3 separate regions of the Homo sapiens genome follow, and all the other regions are linked to region 2. The links are contacts of gene promoters, found by promoter capture Hi-C in blood cells and fetal thymus (Javierre and others, 2016). All regions are on one chromosome and are shown on one strand. Each heading gives the region's core, a stretch centred on a gene start or on the middle of the fragment in contact. The rest is flanking DNA. Distances are from core to core; before and after follow the strand shown.

What was found. Contacts are between HindIII fragments. The CHiCAGO score rates a contact against its expected background, and 5 or more counts as called.
Region 1: the fragment with the promoter of ZNF691-DT here is called in contact with the fragment with the promoter of B4GALT2 in region 2 in 3 of 17 cell types (fetal thymus, total B cells and total CD8 T cells); the score reaches 6.0 in fetal thymus.
Region 3: the fragment with the promoter of YBX1 here is called in contact with the fragment with the promoter of B4GALT2 in region 2 in 3 of 17 cell types (naive CD8 T cells, fetal thymus and total B cells); the score reaches 6.5 in naive CD8 T cells.

Annotation. Positions count from the first base shown.
Region 1 is chr1:42,844,126-42,848,043 of GRCh38, forward strand. It overlaps ZNF691-DT (ZNF691 divergent transcript), which reads right to left and starts at 2,289. Exons shown (of 5, transcript NR_186083.1): 1 at 2,132-2,289; 2 at 386-559. It overlaps ZNF691 (zinc finger protein 691), which reads left to right and starts at 2,488. Exons shown (of 4, transcript NM_001242739.2): 1 at 2,488-2,532. It overlaps ERMAP (erythroblast membrane associated protein (Scianna blood group)), which reads left to right. Exons shown (of 12, transcript NM_001017922.2): 12 at 1-866. RefSeq lists enhancers at 2,025-2,294, 2,455-2,524. The HindIII fragment of the contact is 2,341 bases long and covers 4-2,344 here.
Region 2 is chr1:43,977,773-43,982,134 of GRCh38, forward strand. B4GALT2 (beta-1,4-galactosyltransferase 2) reads left to right here and starts at 1,438. Exons shown (of 7, transcript NM_003780.5): 1 at 1,438-1,739; 2 at 3,337-3,701; 3 at 3,917-4,152. The coding sequence starts at 3,389. It overlaps ATP6V0B (ATPase H+ transporting V0 subunit b), which reads left to right. Exons shown (of 8, transcript NM_004047.5): 8 at 209-523. The coding sequence ends at 235. RefSeq lists enhancers at 140-731, 732-1,322, 1,323-1,914, 4,279-4,362 and silencers at 1,332-1,431, 1,702-1,811. The HindIII fragment of the contact is 15,054 bases long and covers 1-4,362 here.
Region 3 is chr1:42,680,423-42,684,562 of GRCh38, forward strand. YBX1 (Y-box binding protein 1) reads left to right here and starts at 1,996. Exons shown (of 8, transcript NM_004559.5): 1 at 1,996-2,309; 2 at 2,981-3,044. The coding sequence starts at 2,144. It also overlaps a transcript of PPIH not described here. RefSeq lists an enhancer at 1,652-1,701 and silencers at 2,142-2,341, 2,532-2,641, 2,752-2,901. The HindIII fragment of the contact is 3,657 bases long and covers 431-4,087 here.

The sequences.
Region 1 (3,918 bases), core at 1,039-3,538, 1.1 Mb before region 2:
AGAAGCTTTTTTTTCCCCACAAGACCATTGTACTGCAATACTTGAGTATTTGTGTAGCAAACAGCCTCTTAGGTTGGAGAGTATTGATTTCAAATAGGAAGTTGGTAGACTAGGTGTGAGGATGAAATAATGACCTTGATTTTTGGGTGTGTATTGCAGAAGCCTCGTCGCTTTCAAGTCACATCATATATGCGATCTGGCCTAACCATGGAGATATTGGTTATCAGTTTGCAGATGAATACACAGTTCTATCCAACAGAAACTGTATCTTTCTGTTTGTCAGAAGTTCTCCGTTAGTTCCTGTATTAGTCAAGGTTTTCCAGAGAAACAGAATCAATATATATTGGGGCAGGGGGGCGGTGGTTATTATAAGGAATTGGCTCACGTGATTATGGAGGCGGTTAAATCCCAAGATCTGCAGGATAAGTCAGCAAGATGGAGTCCCATGAGAGCTGATGGTTTAGTTCCAGTCTGATGGCAGCAGGCTTGACGCCAAGGAAGAGATGATGTTTAATTCAAGTCCGAAGGCAAGGAAAAAGCTGATGGTCCTGTCCAAAGGCTATTAGGCAGGAAGAATTCTCTTAGGGCAGAGTTAGCTCTTTTGTTCTATTCAGGCCTTCAACTGATTCAGCAAGGCCCGCCCACATTTGGGAGGACAGTCTGCATTACTCAGTCTACTGATTTGAATGTTAATGTCATTGAGAAACACCCTCACAGGAACACTCAGAATAATGTTTGACCAAATAGCTGGGCATCTTGTGACCCAGTTAAGTGGATACATAAGATTAACTATCACAGTGACTCAGTGGAATTTTTTGTTTGCTTTTGTACAGTTTTAAAATAAAAGTTTGGTATTTGTGTTTTGGTATGCTGTTATTTTCATTGTGAATGAGGAGTTGTGGGGAAGGTAAGAGATTGGTTTCCAAAGAGCTTTGAGTCCCCCAAGGCAAGGTTTAGCCACCGTTCATACTAAAGCCATAGTTTTATTCCTGAGTCTGCTCTCTAGTATTTTATTTTATCAATTTATAAACAAATAGTGTTCATAAGGCACACATATTTCACTCAACCATATTCAGTTCCAAACATGCATTCCTGAATATCCCAATCTTAAAACTAACTCACATTGTCAGCTTGTGGAGGCAGAATACATGCATACATATACACATACATACATGAATATACATATAATATACACACACATATGCATACATACACATATACACATGTATACATGTATGTGTATATACATATCTGTACTACATAGGTGTATATATATGTATATGTATTTAGCATGTATGCACGTGTATATGTATACACATATATACATATGTATGTATAATACATATTCACACATGTATGCATGTATATACACATGTATACATTAGTATATGTATATACACATGTATGTGTATTATACATGTATATATGTACATACATATCAGTCTACTGATTTGAATATTAATGTCATCAAGAAATAACCTCAATATATGTATGTATTATAACCTTACAACTATATAAAACATACATACATATATATGTATATATGTATACACATACACATGCATGAGAATATATGTATGTATATATAATATCCTCACAGTAATTCTGCCAGGGATTTTATGGGGGAGGGAGTTGGTACTCCAAATGGCTAGGTGGTAGAGCCAGAGTTTTATACTTGGTTTATCTAGCTCTGAAGGCAATGCTCCTTGTTCTTTGCACTGAAACATTGTGCAGATACGAGAAGCCTGTAGTTTACGTATTTCATTAGCCTTTTATTATTTTAAAAAATAAAACCTGAAAAAAAAGACCTAGTCCTGGATACTTTGGTGATCTTGTTGTGTCTGGATTGACGAACACGTGTCAGGCTTAATTAGGGATGCACGCGGAACCCGGGAAAATCCCTGCTCAGGGGGGCTGGAAGACCTGGAGGTTGATCCTTGAACAGGGTACTTTTAGCTTCTCCGATAAGGAGATTGGGTTATTTTATCTTTAAACTCCCTTCCAGCTCTACCCTCCTTTGATTTTAAGTTATAAACCTTGAGTGAGGTGCCAGACTCTAGGCTTCGTTGGACGTCTACAGGACGGTCAAGGATTACCAACTCAAAGTAAAGAAGGAAATTTGAGTACTTGCCCCCTTGGAGGTTGTGTAGGTTGGCTATACAGATTCTACAACTTCCCAGACGAGTGGCCCTGAGACTTGGGGCTGAACGCGCGAGCACGGAAAGAAATCCCACCGTAGGACGGAACCCAGTCTCTTCAGCTCCATCCTAAACTTCGCAAGTTTTCTCTGAGTCTACGCGCTTCCTTAGGACTACAACTCCCAGCATGCCACGCCAGCGGTCAAAGCTTATTGGTGGTCCTGCCAGGTCGCTTGCGTTGTGGCAGTCATGGTAGCCAATGGAAATAAAGAATTATCCCAAGAAACCAATCCTGGAGTAGTAGGGCGGATCCTTCCTGGGTTCCGGCTCCGGCTCCAGCTCCTTCCCTCGCCTACAGAGGCGGCGCTGTCCCTGATCGAGCGGCGGGAGCGAGGTGGGTCCGGGTTGGGCCCGAGGTCGCGGGGGGAGGCGGACACGACTTCGCGGGAAACTCTGTACACGGCCACTTCCCTCTCACCGAGGATCTGGATGCTGCTGCTTTGCTCCCTGGACCGAGTGGGAAGCCAAGGGGCCTTGTGGTCCCTCCGCCGCGACCCTCGCCCTGGCCCCCGGCCCACGCAGCCAGGTGGCTGTCCCCAACCCATTCCCCGGCCCTTCTGTTGGGTTTGAGTATACAGCCTTCCTGCCGCTGACCATACGTTTAGGATCAGCCCCTCCTCCTCTCCCACCTCTCTGGCCCCAAGCCCGCCGGCAATCTCTGAAACCAGCTCTTGTACCCTTGGACCTCCGCCATTGGCTTCTCCCCGCCCCGCAACACACAACTCAGCTCTTGGGCCCTGGCCTGTGACACTTCTGGCAGCCTTTGCTTCCTCTTCCCTGACCGTCTCCTGCGACCCTCTGACTTCCTTGGTCCTCCTGTATCTCTGACCCGTTATCTAGCTTCCCTGTACAATTACCCTGTTAGCACCTTGCTCTTGGTCTTTCATAGCTCCTCTCTCCTCTTCCTCCCTGCAGCCCTTGACTTGGCCCCAAAGACCTGTAACTTCGGACCTCCATACCGCACTATGGCTTGGCCCCTTGCCTTTAACCTAGGCGCTTCACCTTCATCATCTGTGATCACTAGCCCCATCTTCTTGGCTCTTAACTTCTTAGACCTGGCCCCTCCTCCACTTCTCAGCCCCTTCCACCGTTGCTTCTCTCTGTGCAGCTGAGCCACCAGGAAGACAAAGCCCAATAGACCCCTTTTCCCCCCAGATCTCTGCAGTGTGATATGAAAGTGCCTCTGTACTTCAGCTGCACTGTCTTCTCAGTAGGTAGTTGCCTCTTTATCTCTGCAAGTCCCAGTCTTACCCATCCTGCAAACCTTAGGTCAAATACCTACTCCTCCTTGAAACTTCTCAGCCCTGATTTCATCAGGGAGATACATCTGTATCATGTGAACTTCAGTGGTACTGTTTTTATTTCCTTCCTTCCCGTCTTCTCTCCTTTTTTCCTTCAGTAATAGTATAATGGTTAAAAGCACTGACTTTGAAGTGATGGGCATAGGCCCCAGTTCTGCCACTTACTTGCTGTGTGCCCTTGGGCAAGATACTTAATTTCTCTGAGCCTCAGCTTTCTCATCTCTAAAATAAGGATGATGTGAAGTGAAATTAGATGATTCATATATGGTCCTTAGTCCACAGCTTAGCACTTGATTCGAGCTTTAAAAAAATGTTAATAATGTGCCAGGTGCTGTGTTAGACACTGAGGAGTGGGTACAAAGGTGACTAAGGCACAGTTCCTGCCCCTGTCCCCTGAACTTAACCTTCTGCATTGTATG
Region 2 (4,362 bases), core at 188-2,687:
TGCCACTTCTCTCCGTCTGTCCCACAGCGTAACTCTGTGGTTGTCTGTCCCTGTCTGCCTTGTCTGTCACAGTGTGTCCATCCTGGTTAGTCATATATCTCTTGTGGTCTGTCCATCCAACCATGTGCTAGATGTCATCTTCTATCATTTGTCACTGCCTTACCTATTCCTCTGTCCCTGCCTGATTTCTCCTGTTCTTTTTTTGCAGACCTCCAGAGTGAAGATGGGTGACTAGATGATATGTGTGGGTGGGGCCGTGCCTCACTTTTATTTATTGCTGGTTTTCCTGGGACAGCTGGAGCTGTGTCCCTTAGCCTTTCAGAGGCTTGGTGTTCAGGGCCCTCCCTGCACTCCCCTCTTGCTGCGTGTTGATTTGGAGGCACTGCAGTCCAGGCCGAGTCCTCAGTGCGGGGAGCAGGCTGCTGCTGCTGACTCTGTGCAGCTGCGCACCTGTGTCCCCCACCTCCACCCTCAACCCATCTTCCTAGTGTTTGTGAAATAAACTTGGTATTTGTCTGGGTCAGTGCAGCTTCTGTTGCCCTCTTGCGTCACCGTTCACAGAGGAAGGGTAAAGAGGCCTGTACGCCTCAGCCTCATGCCAATCCCTTGTCAGCTTTCTGACTGCACACTTCTGATCTGCACAGAGCTTGCTCCTAGGTGGGGAGGCACGGGTGCTGGGTGGACTCTAACCCCCAAACAGACTTGTTTGGGGATGAGGGAGTGTGCAGATAGGGGCCCCTGGGTGTGTTTGTGCCTGTAGTCCTTCTAGGCCCGTTTGCTCAGGGCTCTGACTGACCACCATGCCCGAATTGTCTGACAGCATCTACTTACCTGGTTGTACAGTCGGGCACCATCATCTCCGTCCTTGTGAGGCCTGGAGCCTAGGCAGTGGTCTCTGCCTCCAGTGATGGTCCTGTCCTTCTAGCAGCAGCCCCTCCCAGAAACCTCTACTCTGATCCTTGTTCCCAGGGCCCAGGGCAGCTCCTCCCACCCCATCCAATCTCGTTTTCTCCTTCCCTGACCCTGTTTCCTGTTACCCCAGAAGCCCCAGCCACCTCCAGCCCACGCCTTTAAGGGTCCTGCCCCCTCTCTGCTGGCCGACCTTGAATCTTGGTCCAATTAAAGAGTTGACAAATCCCTAGCCCCGCAGCCTGAGTCCGCCCAACCTCCAGGTCCCCTTCCTGGGGAGTTCGCGCTCCAATGCAATCCCCACTCCCCGCTAAGGGACTCCACGGTCTGCACCCGCTCGCCGGTCCGACCTCTAAGCCCACCCTTTGGACGAGCCTGACCCATTTCCTCCCGCGCTCCCAGGTCCGTGCCTCCTGGGTGCCCGGGTTCGGCCGCCGGCAGGGCGGGCTCGCAGCGGCGCGCGGCGGGTGCGGGCGTGCTGGAGGCGGGGGCCGCGGGGGCGCGCGCGCGGGCGCGCGGGCCGGGCCTGCCCCTCCGAGGCGCCGTAGCGCGGGAGGGAGGCGGCGGCGCTGTGGTCCGTGGGTCCGCCGGTCCGTGGGTCTGCCCGGCCGCCCGGCCCCGCCCTGCCCCCCGGGGCGGCTCGGCTCCATGGCCCGCGGCGGCGGCGGCGGCGGCGGCGGCGGGAGGCGACCCGGGGGCCGCGGTGGCCGCTGACCGGGCGGCGGGAGGCGGCGGGGCCGGGCCATGGGGGACGGAACCGTCCGCAGCCGCCGGAGCCGGGAGCCCTGCCCAAGTCGGAGCGGCGTCCCCTGCTGAGCCCCGAGCGCCGGGTGAGAGGAGGGCGCGCGCGGCCCCCACCCAGGGCCCCGAGATTCCAGACCCAGCCCCGCGAGGGGCACCCCGAGCGCGGCCCCGAGATCCCAACCCAGGAGCCGGTGAGAGAGGCGCCGGCGGCCAGACCCCGGCCTGGCTGCCCCCACCCCGCCCCCACTCCGGCGCCCCTCCTGGGCTTCTCCGCCCGCGTCCAGCCGGCCTCCCTCATTGTCCTCGCTCGCCCCGGCCTCGTGGCGCGGGGAGGCGTTCCATACACGTTTCCCCTTGGCCTTTGCCTCATCCGCTGCCCTCCACCCACTCCCCCTGCCCCCAGGCTCCACACCCACCCGGTCTGTGCGGCCTGCCCGTCCGCGGGTGCCACGTGTTCAGCCTGCCAGCCCCGCCCAAACGCACCCCTCAGCCTGGCCGCCAGCCTGACCCAGAACCCCTGCGCCGGAGGGAGGGTGGGAATGTCTGCACGTGGGTCTGGGTGTGAGCTGTCTGAGAGTCTGGATGTATGGCTGTGGAAGTCCAGGAGCAGTGGCCTTGTTTGTGAGTGTGGGACTTAGTGTGTTACTGTCACCCGGGTGTGTCTGTGACTGTAGTTCTCTGTGTGTCTGAGTGTGGGTGACCAGCTGGGACCAGGGTGTCCCTGTGATTCTGTGTGCCTGTGAGACTCACCCTGCTCCCTGAAGCACTGCCAGAAGTGGCTGCCGCTCTCTTGGAACCACAGCTGGAGCCATCGCCCAGGCAAGACCCCCTTCCTGCCATGCCCAGTGCTGTGCCCATCTCCAGGCCCAAGCATCCCGTTCCGGGAATCAGAACCAGCTGTGCTGGGCAGGACCCAGAGTCTTGGTCCCAGTCCCAAGGGGCTGGCTTTGAGGTCTTAAGTGAGGGGTGTCCCCTGCCTTGCCCCGTATTTTGACGTTTTGCTCCAGTGGGAAGGGATTCTGTAAACATCCAGTCTGTATTTGGGCCCCCCGGATGCTGAGGGCAACTTCCCAGCCTGGTCCCAGTTGGCCTGGCCTGCTTGTCGCTGGGATCTGAATGACCAAACCACTTCCCACCATGGCTCCTGGAAGGACTAAATGAAGTCATGAGTATAAAGTGCTCCTGCATGGTAGGTGCACAGTATTCCGTCTCTTCCCTCTTCCCCAAGCCATGAGTTCTGGGTTAAGGATGCTGCCATGTGAGGTGTCTGTTCTCAGGGGCACAGGGGCACATGGGGGTCTATAGGTAAACATGTCTCCATGCTTAGGTACAAACCAGTGTGGTTAGAGTTCACGTGTCTGTGTTCCTGGGAATGCGTGAGTGTGTGTGTAGAGTTGTGCAATAAGGGTGAGTGCCTGAGTGTGTGTGTCAGTGAGGTGGAGGAAGGTAAATGTATGTGGCTTAGTAGTGGGGTGTGCTTGAGGATGTGAGTACTGAGTTGCCGGGAACTGTGCCTGGGTGTCTGTTTGGAGGTAAATTCTTGAGTCTGTGAGTGTGAAAGGGTATGAGCAGGTCAGTGTGAGGTGTGGCCCACGAGTGTGAGCAGCTGAGTGGGAGGTAGGTGGGCAGCCTTGCCTGTCCTGCCCTGACCTGCTGGATCTGTTTCCCTCCCACCCTGCTCAGGCCAGCAGCCGGATGCCCGGGCCCACTGGGCGGGCCAGTGGCCGCCTGCGGGATGAGCAGACTGCTGGGGGGGACGCTGGAGCGCGTCTGCAAGGCTGTGCTCCTTCTCTGCCTGCTGCACTTCCTCGTGGCCGTCATCCTCTACTTTGACGTCTACGCCCAGCACCTGGCCTTCTTCAGCCGCTTCAGTGCCCGAGGCCCTGCCCATGCCCTCCACCCAGCTGCTAGCAGCAGCAGCAGCAGCAGCAACTGCTCCCGGCCCAACGCCACCGCCTCTAGCTCCGGGCTCCCTGAGGTCCCCAGTGCCCTGCCCGGTCCCACGGCTCCCACGCTGCCACCCTGTCCTGACTCGCCACCTGGTCTTGGTGAGCCTGGAGGGTAGGGCCTGCCTGTGGGGAAACAGGGTTTTATTGGTTTGACTAGAGAAATGGCATCTGGACCCAGGGGTGTGCCAGGGGTCCAGGTCTGTTGTAAGAGGGCTATTCTTGGGGTTCCCTAGCCCACCCCCAGGCTGAGGGTGGGGGCTGGTATCTGTGGATTCTGGCCAATGCCCTGATTCCTGACACTGTCCTGTCTGCAGTGGGCAGACTGCTGATCGAGTTCACCTCACCCATGCCCCTGGAGCGGGTGCAGAGGGAGAACCCAGGCGTGCTCATGGGCGGCCGATACACACCGCCCGACTGCACCCCAGCCCAGACGGTGGCGGTCATCATCCCCTTTAGACACCGGGAACACCACCTGCGCTACTGGCTCCACTATCTACACCCCATCTTGAGGCGGCAGCGGCTGCGCTACGGCGTCTATGTCATCAACCAGGTGCCCATGCGGGGGTCCATGTGCCTGTTGGTGTATATATGTGGGTTGGGGGCGTTTGTGGGTCCTTGTCTGCCCGTGTGGATATGTGGATGGACCTGGGCGTGGGTAGTCGGTGTTTGTCAGTGTGCACAGGAATGTGTACGCACAGTGTGTGCATGTGAATGTTGGCATGCACACTGGCAGGTGTGTGCATGGTCTCAGAAGGGGTTG
Region 3 (4,140 bases), core at 746-3,245, 1.3 Mb before region 2:
TACAAGCACCTGGAAGGTTGGACAGGGAATACAAGAGAAGACTCTAAGACTTCTCTTAGAAGTCATAGAGTCCAGTAAACCACATTATGGAATCTGGACTACCCTAAGGGTAATAGTAGTCACTGGAAGATTTTAAGTAAGACAGTGTCATGATCAGATAGATGTTCTCAAAAGAACTTTCTGGCTGTTGTGGTGGGTAATATTAGAGTAAGAAAGAGGTAGAGAGGTGTGGTTAGTAGCCAACAGCACTGCTCTATGCTAGGGGTCAGCCGACTACACTCCGTTTTTCTGTGGCTCATGAGCTAAGAATACAAATGGTTTTTAAAATGTTTAAATAGTTGAAAATATGTAAAGATTCGTGTCATGTAAAAATTAAGGCTGTTTTCAAGCTCCAAACCTGAGTAGTAAGTCAGAACCATATGGTCGGCCAAGCTTATATTATTAACTATTTGGCTCTCACAGAAAAAGGTTCCTACCCCTTGCTCTAAGCAATTGGTGATGATGGCCTACAGTAGTGACAGTAGGAATGAAAAGACTCTGAATTGACATTTAGAGGGTTTAGGACTGACTCAAGAACGCCTTTAGGAGGTGGAACTCACAGGCCTAGACGGCATTGGTAGGGGTAAGGAATACTGCATTAGCCTCCTAACTGCTTTCTCTACTTCCATTCCTTGCCCCTCTGCAACCCATTCTCCACTCCGCAGCCATTTTTAAAAAGATGCCCCTCCCTACTTATGACTCTAAAATTGCTCTTCTCACTCTTCCCCTCAGGATATATTTCCAATTAAATATACCTAAGTGACTGCCCACCTCTGCAACCCAATGTCACATTCGAGTCTTACTGAACTACTTGACTGCATTTCCCGAGATCTCACCTCTTCTCGCCTGTACCCTGTGCGCGGAAAGTCAGCCCTCCACCTTCTCCCTGCTTCCACTCCCAAAATACTTCGTGGTTTTGCAGCTCTGGAGTATTTACCGTGTTGGCTGTTTAAATTTCTGCCTCCATCAGAAGGCAGAAACTGACTCGCGAACTATTCCATCCCCAGCCGATAGTAGACGCTTAAAAAAGAACGAAAGAAGGTGGGTGGAGGACTTCAGTAACATCAGGTGGCAGCCTCAATTTTATCGTTTGTGAAACGTGGATAGTAATCCCTCTATCACGTGGCTGTTGCAGGAATAAAGTGAAAAAACAAAACAGGCTAGCTTGTTCAATAAATGTGAGTTGAATTAAATCTGATTTGTGGTCAGTAGAAAAAGATGTGAATACTTGGAAAGGAAGACACATTTTTTTAAATATATGCCTGGTAAAACGGATCAGAAGGCAGGTCCCCATGGAGCACACCCTCGCCCTAAACATGCTGAACCCGGGCTGCCATAGCCTGCGTGGTCCCTCCAAGGTGACTGCTCCGACAAAAGGGTACGCTCTTCAAACGCATACGTTTAAGGCAATTCCAGAAACCCTCGGCTGTGCCGCGACTACACGGCCATTAAAGAAAAGACGACTCTATGCCCGCCGTAATGTTCTCAGATCACAGGGACCGTATTTGGAGCTGGGAGGGAGGGAAGCCTTTTCTTCACGGGGGGCTAAGGCGTCTTCGAGCCCCCTTCCAATCCCGGGTCCGGCCGGGTAATCCCTGCCCAGCGTTCGGGCGTGCCTTTTTTTCAGCCGAGACACAACCCTGAACGTGGGGCCCGCCAGCCCGGCGGCTGCCTCGTGGAAGTCACGTTCCTTCTGCCCGTCCTCTCGGGTACTCTATGGTTTTCGTGGCCGACTACTCTAATTCTAGTTCCGGTCTCTATGGCGGCCGGCGGAGGCAGGAACGGTTGTAGGTCGACTGAATTAGCCGCCAAAGGTCCAATGAGAATGGAGGACTGATAAAATATTAGCCAATAGAAGCTAGGGATTGGGGTCAGGTGGGCAGATTGACAGTACCACTGGCCAGTGAACAACGCCTAGGGCGGGTCGCTCGTAGGGCTTATCCCGCCTGTCCCGCCATTCTCGCTAGTTCGATCGGTAGCGGGAGCGGAGAGCGGACCCCAGAGAGCCCTGAGCAGCCCCACCGCCGCCGCCGGCCTAGTTACCATCACACCCCGGGAGGAGCCGCAGCTGCCGCAGCCGGCCCCAGTCACCATCACCGCAACCATGAGCAGCGAGGCCGAGACCCAGCAGCCGCCCGCCGCCCCCCCCGCCGCCCCCGCCCTCAGCGCCGCCGACACCAAGCCCGGCACTACGGGCAGCGGCGCAGGGAGCGGTGGCCCGGGCGGCCTCACATCGGCGGCGCCTGCCGGCGGGGACAAGAAGGTCATCGGTGAGGACCGGACAGGGACGGGGGTGGGGCCCTCGGGCAGCCCAGCAGCGGAACCGTTAGCCGGAGCTGGGCGAGCCGGCGGGCGCGCGGCCGGTGGGCACCGACTCCGCGGCGCGCGGCCGCCCATCCCCCCCGTCCCCCCCTCACTCCCTCTCGCGGGGACCCGCCCGGCAGGCGCGCGCGCACTGCCTCCCGCGCCCCCTGTGGACCCCGCGCGGCCGCGCGCCCCTCCCCCTGCGGCCGCGCGCCGCCGACCGCGTGTGCGACGGGGTCCCCTCCCCGCCGACCGGCCTCGTGCGCTCGGGCCCGCACGCCGTTGTTCGCGTCACCCCCACCCAGCTCCCTTCCGCGTGTGCTCGGAGGGCGCGGCGCACCGCCTACGCAGGCCGGAGCGGCTTCCCCTTCCCTCACGTGCTCTCCGTCCGCGGCCTGCGCACACACCCATCCTGGGGCCCGCGCCCCGGGCCTGCCCTGGAGCGCCCCGCGCTTCAGACTCACCCACGTGTGCGGCGGCGGCGGCGACTGCGTGGCCCCGCACCCGGGCGGTGGAGAGAAAGGGCTGTCAGGTGGCCGCGGCGGCCGGCGTGCGAGGGACCGGATGCCCAAGCCGGGCGGATTTGGAAAAGGATAGCTGGTAATCGTGGCTTGTTTTGCTTTGTTTTCTTTTCCAGCAACGAAGGTTTTGGGAACAGTAAAATGGTTCAATGTAAGGAACGGATATGGTTTCATCAACAGGTGAGCTGCCGGGCTCTGAAGCCTCCATCCCACCTTCTTGCTTGCTTCCTGCTCTGTCGGCTTCTCGGGGCTTGGGAAGCCCCAATCCACAGCTCTGTTCTGAAAGGCGTTTACTACCTCTGGTGTATTAGTATGATTTTTTGTTGTTGTTGTTTTCCTTGATTAGGGATTAGTGGATCTAGAGAATGCCTTTGTTTTGCAGCTAAATATTAATTTGAAGCTAACTTAAAAGGCTTCGTCACAGTACAAAGCAATTCAAAAGGCAAGCGGAGTGAATGAGCCATTCCTTAACAGGGTAAACGGGAAACTACGGTCCAGTACATTTTTATCCTTGTCATCTTTTTCTACTTTATTGAACTCGGTATTTGAGAATGTGATCCACTGACATCGGATATTTATACATTGTTAACGTTTTAGGGTAAGAGGATTTGACTATATGAGGTTTTGTCATCTTTACCGAGAGGTTGTATTGCCTTTGTTTCACGTTTCATTTTAATACCTGAGATAAATTTTGTCTTAGCACAGCTTTGACCAGAGAGAACTGTTTTTATTTGCTCATCCAGTAAATAATATATTTACAAGAAAGTGGTTTTTTTTCCTTCTTCCGTTCTTATTTTTCATTCTTCCTTGTCCTAGAATCATAACTGGTTAAGTCGATTTCTGTTAGATCCCTGGCTGTAGCTTATTAGAGTGGCCATAGTCACTGGTAACTTGACATTTTTCTTCCTGTTTGAAGGCAAAGCTGCAGACACGTCTTTAGGACTTACCCTTCGGGTTGTTTGTAGGAGTGGTGGTGGTAACGTGCAGTAGACGCACTGTATTCCATGGGCTCCCTTGTAAGCCGGGCATCATTTTCAAGATGGCTGCCAAGGCTAGTAGTGCTAGTTACATGGGTGCAGAGCACTGGGTATGCCAGTAGCAATCTTGGCCTCACAGGTATGGTACTTAGTGCCATCTCAGCATTGTCTTGCTTGCTTACTGTAGAAGACCTAAGCAGATGATTAAAAGAACAATGTGGAATGGACAACAAATGGGCAAAATCAAGCTTAAGGACAGAATCATTGCCTGATGAAAAACTGTTCATTAATCAATCATA